2 separate regions of the Homo sapiens genome follow, and region 2 is linked to region 1. Evidence: promoter capture Hi-C in 16 types of primary human blood cells and fetal thymus (Javierre and others, 2016). All regions are on one chromosome and are shown on one strand. The core of a region is centred on a gene start or on the middle of the fragment in contact, and the rest is flanking DNA. Distances in the headings are between cores, read along the strand shown. Region 1 holds the start of FBXL19-AS1 (FBXL19 antisense RNA 1). Region 2 holds the start of INO80E (INO80 complex subunit E).

What was found. Contacts are between HindIII fragments. The CHiCAGO score rates a contact against its expected background, and 5 or more counts as called.
Region 2: a fragment that was not itself captured here is called in contact with the fragment with the promoter of FBXL19-AS1 in region 1 in 2 of 17 cell types (non-activated CD4 T cells and fetal thymus); the score reaches 8.9 in non-activated CD4 T cells.

Annotation. Positions count from the first base shown.
Region 1 is chr16:30,921,308-30,924,911 of GRCh38, forward strand. It overlaps FBXL19-AS1 (FBXL19 antisense RNA 1), which reads right to left and starts at 1,962. Exons shown (of 1, transcript NR_024348.1): 1 at 1-1,962. FBXL19 (F-box and leucine rich repeat protein 19) reads left to right here and starts at 2,265. Exons shown (of 11, transcript NM_001382779.1): 1 at 2,265-3,152. RefSeq lists enhancers at 335-1,303, 1,044-1,863, 1,304-2,271, 1,894-1,983, 2,024-2,183. The HindIII fragment of the contact is 5,738 bases long and covers 1,134-3,604 here.
Region 2 is chr16:29,995,189-29,998,792 of GRCh38, forward strand. INO80E (INO80 complex subunit E) reads left to right here and starts at 1,053. Exons shown (of 7, transcript NM_173618.3): 1 at 1,053-1,203; 2 at 1,359-1,429; 3 at 1,620-1,672. The coding sequence starts at 1,123. HIRIP3 (HIRA interacting protein 3) reads right to left here and starts at 429. Exons shown (of 7, transcript NM_003609.5): 1 at 353-429; 2 at 155-275; 3 at 1-29. The coding sequence starts at 417. RefSeq lists enhancers at 777-946, 1,007-1,136. The HindIII fragment of the contact is 354 bases long and covers 1,725-2,078 here.

The DNA.
Region 1 (3,604 bases), core at 712-3,211:
CCCAACACTTAGGGAGGCCAAGGCGGGAGGCACACTTGTGGCCAGGAGTTCGAGACCAGCCTGGGCAACATAGCGAGACTTCGTCTGAACAAAAAAAAATTATAGTTTAAAAATTAGCTGGGTGTAGTGGCGCGTGCCTGAAGTCCCAGGTATTCACAAGGCTGAGGGAGGAGGATCGCTTAAGCCCAGGAGGTCGAGGCTGCAGCAAACTATGATCCTGCAACTGCACTCCAACCCAAGTGACAGAGCAAGACCTTAAAACACACACAAAAAAAACCAAAAAACGGCAGAAAGATGAGAAGCCGTTCCATTTGCATAGGCAGTTGAAGTGTCTAGGCAGAGGCCTCCAAGGCTGACTGGATATCAGGCAGGGGATGAGGCTGGACAGCCTGCAATGCCTCCAACTCCAGGTTGCGGAAATCGTGTTTGTAGTACCTCAGTCGAATGGAGATTGAGCGCCCCCTGGGAGCAGTGCTCGGTAACAGACGCTGGAGGACCCCGATGAGGAGGGGCGGGGGTCGGTTCAATCTGGGAGGAGCCTGCGGGTCAGTTTTCTTCTCACAGGAGCGAACTCTGTCCGGCATCATGGATTCCTGGGCTCCCAGAACGGCTGGGCTGGAAGGGACCTTAGAAAGGGATCTACCACCGCGTGCCCCGTGCCAGAGTTGGGCACTTTGGTGACAAGAACATTGGCTTGTTTAACACTCACAACTGTGCTTCGAGGTGGGGATCATTATCCCCATTGTCCCCATTTTGCAGATGAGAAAAAGCAAGGTTTGGTGGCTTCCCGGGGCGGGGCGGGGATTCGCTGTGACTCCAGGTCCTTTTCCCCGGAGCCCGCACGTCTTGTAAGACACTGATTCCCGGAGGTCTGAGGAGCAGGAATCGAGTGGGAGGTGCCCAGGCTTTCTAGGGAACAAGAGTGTGAATGCACTCTCGACGAGAACCACGCCCCCCTGTTCGACAAGACTGATTCCTGCTGCCTTCCTTTAAGGGCCCTCCCCTGAAACGCGAAGTCCTCGCCCCATGGAGAGGCGGACATTCTTTATTCCCGGATCGCCCGACGTTTTTCTCCCCCACCCGCACTGATCCCCACTGGTGACATAAATCCTTCCCCTCCACTCGCGAGTGAAAGCTTGGGACTACATTTCCCGCCAGGCTGTTCAGAAGCCGGTGGCGGAGAGAGGAGAAAAGAGTCTTTCCGTTTCCGTCGCCTCGCAATTTGGCGTGTCCGCCGGGATTCACATTTCAACAGCGACGTCCTTTCTCTGTTGGACTCGGCAAGGAACTACATTTCCCAGCAGGCACCGGCGCAGAGGTCGAGGGGCGAGGTCGCCATCTTTTTCGTAGTCCTCTCCCTCATTTCCGCAGGGAAGAGGCCAGACGCCTGGACTACACATCCCATGTCGCAGTCGCCCCGGCCCTGCAGCCGCCATCTTTGCCGGTGGCCCCGCCCCATCCCCTTCCATTGTCTCGACTTGAGATGATAGACGGGAGCCGGGAGACTGCAACTCCCGTCAGGCCGTGCGCCACTGGTGGGGGGGATTTCGAGACCACAGGCGGGCGAGGTGCCCAAGGTGGTGGAAAGCGGAGACCGGGAGAGGCTAGGTAGCCTGCCATCTTTACGGTAGTCTCCTCGTCCTCCTGGTTCCGCCATTCTTAAGGAACACTGGAAGGCTATAAAACTACTAATCCCATCGCACCTCGTAAGATCGACTACTAGTCAGGTGTATGTCCCTCTTCCGCCATCTTGCTTGTAGTCCTCTTTCCTTTTCACCTTTCCATTGTTCCTGACGAGTAGAAATGGCAGCGGGAAGGCAGCAGATGGACTGCGACTCCCGTCAGGTACCACACACGCGGAGGGTTGTGGACAGGAGGGCGTGTGAGTGCCTGGGAAGGAGGTCGGGTCGGGGGAGAAGGCCATCTTGTTTGTAGTCATCGTTCCCTCTCCTTCTCGATGTTCTGCAACTGGGAGCCTCGGGGCAACGGGACTCTAACTCCCGGCATCCTCGGCTCCCGGCTGGGCACGCCCTCCGCCGTCCTGTTTGTAGTTCCCGCTGTCCCCAGCGTCCTATTGTTCCCCCGTAGCATCAGTGGCCGCAGGACTACAACTCCCGTCGAGCCCTGCGTGCGTTCGTCCTGGAAAGTGGAGGTGGTGGAGGAAGGAGGGGGAAGGGGGCGGGGTTCCTCTGGGAGAAGGAGGGAGTAAAGAGGGGGAGGAGGAGGAGGAGGAGGGAAGGAGGAGGGAGGGGAGGGGAGGGGGGAAGAGAGGAGGAAGGAGGAAGGAGCTGAGGAGGGATGAGAGAGGCGGCCAGGGCCCCGGGCCGTAGCAGCGCGGGGCTGGGGGACCAGGGGGGCTGAGACACCCCAACTGCCCCCTTCCCCTTTCCCTCTCCCCCTCTATCCTTTCCTTCCACCCTCCCGCTTGAGGAGGGGGATTTATTCAAATTTTATTTAAATCCCTATCTCCCGAGGGTCGCGCGCTTGGGGGAGGGGGAGAGGTCGGGGGTGCGCGCGGGCTGGGGGGGGCGGGGCCGGAGCAGCTTCCTTCACCTCCCCCTCCGCTCGCCTCGCAGCCGTAGGGCAGGGGGTCGCAGTCCAGGGGCGGGCCCAGGGGAGGGGGGCAGGTTACAGCGACCCCCCCCTCCCCGGGAACCGGCGGTGGGCGGGCTTGAACCCCGGAAACGGTGGGGGGGGCCCAGGCCTGGCACTGGACCCCTGGGCAGTGGGGTCCGGGAAGGGGCCAGTTAAAGGGCCAGGGGCGCTGGGGAGAGGCGGGGCGGGGTGGGGGGAGGGGAGCTGGGACTCGGACCCGGGACTGAGTGGGCCCCGGGCAGAAGCTGAGCACCCTGCGCCCAAGGAGCCCCCGTTGGCCTGGGGGGGCTGAGGGACTGAGCCTCCCAGAGCAGGACCTCCCCCTGGAAGGGCCGCGCCGCAGCCCGTGGGAGGGCCTCGCCCCCGGCGCCCCCCATCTCCACTCGCCGCCGTCCCGGCCTCCGCCGGAGGGAGGGGCCGAGCGCCCTCGGGGGGCCGTGGACCCCGGCGTTCTGAGCGTTCCGCGCCCCGCGCCGCCCGGCCCCCCCGCCGCCGATGGCCGCCGACCCGCCGGGAGCTGCCGAGAAGGGAGAGATGGCTCCCGGGACACGTGTGAGGTGGGTTCATGCGGCTCCTCCTCACCCCCAGACCTGGGCAGCGCCCACTCCCATTCATCCTCAGCCCGGCCTCTCTCTACCTTCCCCGCCCCCAGCCTCACCCTCTCTCTACTCCAAACTCATCTCCAGCCCTCCTTCCTATGACCTCTCCACCCTGGGGAACTGGCCCTCCTTCCTAGACCCTGCTTCCCCTTGAAAGCCCCCACCCCCGCCTGCAGTCGCCGCCCTCCAGGCCCCTCCCCTGGAGCGCTGGAGGGCCCCTTAGCCCCATGGATGGGTATGAAAGTCCCCGGAAAGGGGGAATCTGGGGTAAGACTGACTGGGAAGAGACCCTCCAGGCTTCTAATTCCACATGGGATCTTGGAGGATCTGGTTTCCATGGGAGGGGGAGCCCAAGGGATTCTAGATGATTAGGGATGAAAGCAGCCCGGGAAGCTGGGGGTCCTAGGACT
Region 2 (3,604 bases), core at 652-3,151, 930 kb before region 1:
TTGTCTTCCCTGGAAGCGGCTTCATCCACCTGTGTGTGCGCCAAGAGGGCAAACTATGCACCAAGGCTGCGCTCACCGCGCCCCGTCAGGCCCCTCCTCCTCAGCAGCAAGCCCCGCCTCCGCCTCCCGCGGCCCAGGCTCCGGCCCGGCACACCTGCATCTTCAGCAGCTCCTCCTCCACCAGCCGCTTCAGTGCCTGCTTCTCCTCGGGCTCCAGGTGGCTGCGGCCCGAGTGAGCTAAGTACCTCCGCCGCACGATGGAATGCGTAAGCGTGCTGCAGGGACATGGTGTCAGGACGGAGTCCCGACCCACCCGCGCCCTTTCCAACCCCATCTCCAACCCCCTGGGCACCTGAGGTCCGGGCGGCCTCGGAAGAAGCTACGGGTGAACTCCTGCATCTCCTTCTCCCGCGCCATTTTGCTCAACCCGGGATTGACGGCTCCCGCCTTTTTTTCTTCTCGGCCTCCGTCAGCGCGTTTGACAGCGGCTCGCGCACGCGCAGTGCTGCGGCAACGTGGGGCGAGGGACCGTTGGCCCTTGGCCGCGGACCGCGTGGGCCGAGAACTTTGCCAGACGAGACTTGTTTTCTCTGGGCAGTTGGAGGGTCTCGCGGCTCCTACCCTTTTTTGGAACGGATCATTTTAAAAGTTCTCGTTAGAAACCAATTCGGCGCCGGCACCCTTTGGGTGAAACCTAATCAGCCCGCGACGCTGCCTTTCTCACTGGTCACGGGCAACAGCTAGGCTGCTGTTATTTCGCAAGGCAGAAGAGAAAAGGCATCCTCGCGAGCAGATGAGGAACCTCGGGGATAAATCCTTTTGTGGCTTCAAGTGTCTAAGTACATTAGAGTCAGGAACGGCGCTTTCCAGCGTCCGCCATTTTTGTGGCGTCACCGCGTCGCTGCTACGCCATCCCCAGCGCAGTGGCTGCCGCGCTCCTGTCCCAGTGTCCCCCGGGAGGTCGGCCCGTGCGGTGACGCCCCTGAGCGCGGGGTACGCCGGGAGTTGTAGTCCTGACGGCACAGCCTTGCAGCGTCTCCGGAAGTGGAGGCGGGAGCGGCACGGCAGCCACTGCTTGGGGTAGCGGGAGGGCAGACTCTGGGCGCCACTCCCGGGCCGGTCATGAACGGGCCGGCGGACGGCGAAGTGGACTACAAAAAAAAATACCGGAATCTGAAGCGGAAGCTCAAGTTCCTCATCTACGTGAGTGCTGCCGCGGGAAGGCTGTGGGGGATGAGGCCTGGCGCGGACAAGATCTCAGTTTACCCAGGTGTAAAGTGGGTGGGGCGAGCGGCCGCTGGTTCCGGGGCCCTTCACGGAGGACCGTTGGCCCAGCGCACCCCTTGCCCGTGATACAGGAGCACGAGTGCTTCCAGGAGGAGCTGAGGAAAGCGCAAAGGAAATTACTGAAGGTGTCCCGGGACAAGAGGTGAGGCACGTTGCAGGGGCGGAGGGCGATGTGCTTCCTAGGAAATCTACATTCGGACCCCATCCCCGAGTAGGGCCACAAGTGCATGGGCTCTTTCAAGTATCCGATGGGCCAGCTGGGAGGGACAGGTACCCAGGAGGACATTGCTGCGCTGGAAAATCACTGTCCGTGTCTCCTTCCCTCCCCTCAGTTTCCTCCTAGACCGACTTCTGCAGTACGAGAACGTGGATGAAGACTCTTCGGGTGAGCAAGGTCTTCAAAAATTGGTGGAGAGCATGGTTCCTGGTACTTAGCAAGCTTCCTGGGCCCCCGCCTTTTAGGCAGTGGTGGCTGATGCAGCCCCCAGTGGTCCTTAAGCCTAGTTGCTTGCCTTCCACCTCCACCGTTCTTTCATTCAGGCACTTACTGAGCACCTATTGTGTTTCAGGCACTGTGCTTGGCACAGGGGATACAGCAGAGGCAGAGATAGGCAAAGCCCTTGGCCTCTTGTAATTTATATTCTAGTTGGGAAGAATAAGTAAATGAAGACAATAGACTAGAATTTTAGGTCATAGGAAGGACTTGAAGGTAATGAAAACAGTTATGCGGTAATGATTATAGTAGAACAGGGGTTGATGAATTGTTTCTGCAAAGGGCCAGATGGTAAGTAAGCTTTTTGCAACATACAATCTTTGAAGCACCTACTGAACTCTGCCATTGTAGTAGCAGCCGTACCCCATAGGCAAATACATGAGTATGGCTATGTTTCTATAAAACTTTATAGGCACTGAAATTTGAATTTCATATTTTTCCATATGAAAAATTTTTCTTTAGTTTTTTTTTTTTCCAACCGTTTAAAAGCTTAAAAGCCATTCTTGGCCAGGTGCAGTGGCCCACGCCTGTAATCCCAACACTTTGGGAGGCCGAGGTGGGCGGATCACAAGGTCGGGAGTTCAAGACCAGCCTGACCAACATGGTGAAACCTCGTCTCTACTAAAGATACAAAAATTAGTCGGGTGTGGTGGCGTGCACCTGTAATCCCAGCTACTGGGGAGGCTGAGGCAGGAGAATCATTTGAACCCTGGAGGCAGAGGTTGCAGTGAGCCGAGATCGCTGCCACTGCATTCCAGCCTGGGTGACAGGGCGAGACTCCGTCTCAAAAAAAAAAAAAAACGCCCTTCTTAGCTTGCAGACCACACAAGCAGGCAGCAGGCAACCTCTGAATGGAGTACTCAAGAAAGGCCTTTCACAGAGTGACATTTGAGTTGGGACCAGAGAAGAAACCAGCCTTCCATCCTGGGCAACATAGTGAGACCCCATCTCAATTAAAAAAAAATTAGCCATGTATAGTGGTGTATACATGTGGTCCCAGCTACTTGGGAGGCAGAACCAGGAGGATCCCTTGCCTGAAAGGTCAAGGCTGCAGTGAGCCATGATAGCACCGCTGTGCTCCAGCCTGGGTGACAGAGCAAGACTGTCTCAAAAGAAAGAAACCCCATCCTGGCTAACACAGTGAAACCCTGTCTCTACTAAAAATACAAAAAGTTAGCCGGGGATGTTGGTGGGCACCTGTAGTCCCAGTTACTCGGGAGGCTGAGGCAGAAGAATGGCGTGAACCTGGGAGGTGGAGCTTGCAGTGAGCTGAGATTGCACTACTGCAGTCCAGCCTGGGCAACAGAGCCAGACTCCATCTCAAAAAAAAAAAAAAAACAAAAACCAATCTTGTGAAGAAGTGGGCTAGAGCTGTCCCGGCAGAATAATATAAATGCAGCTACCCTGAGGTAAGAACAGGTCAGGCTTGGTTGAAGAGCAGAGGCATGAAAGAGAGAGAACACTGTTTTCGTCCTTTTATTTGAATATTGTCTGCAGTTAACTATATTTTACATCATAACCAGGGCCCCACATGTTAAACAAAACAAAGTTTAACGAAACATTTTTAAGATCACTGTATCCAATTCATCCTGACACTTTTTAGACTGCTTTTTTCCCCTTCTTTTAATGCTGGTTGCAAACCAATAAATTGATTTCATGACCCACTAATGGCTTGAGACCCACAGTTTGAAAAAGCCCTAAGGTAGGCATTTGTGGGCCTCTTCCTGGGTGAGGCCCTCGTAAGCCATGTCACGTAGAATCACCTCTCTCCGTGGTGCCTTTAAACATTGGTCTGGGCCGGGCACGGTGGCTCACGCTTGTAAT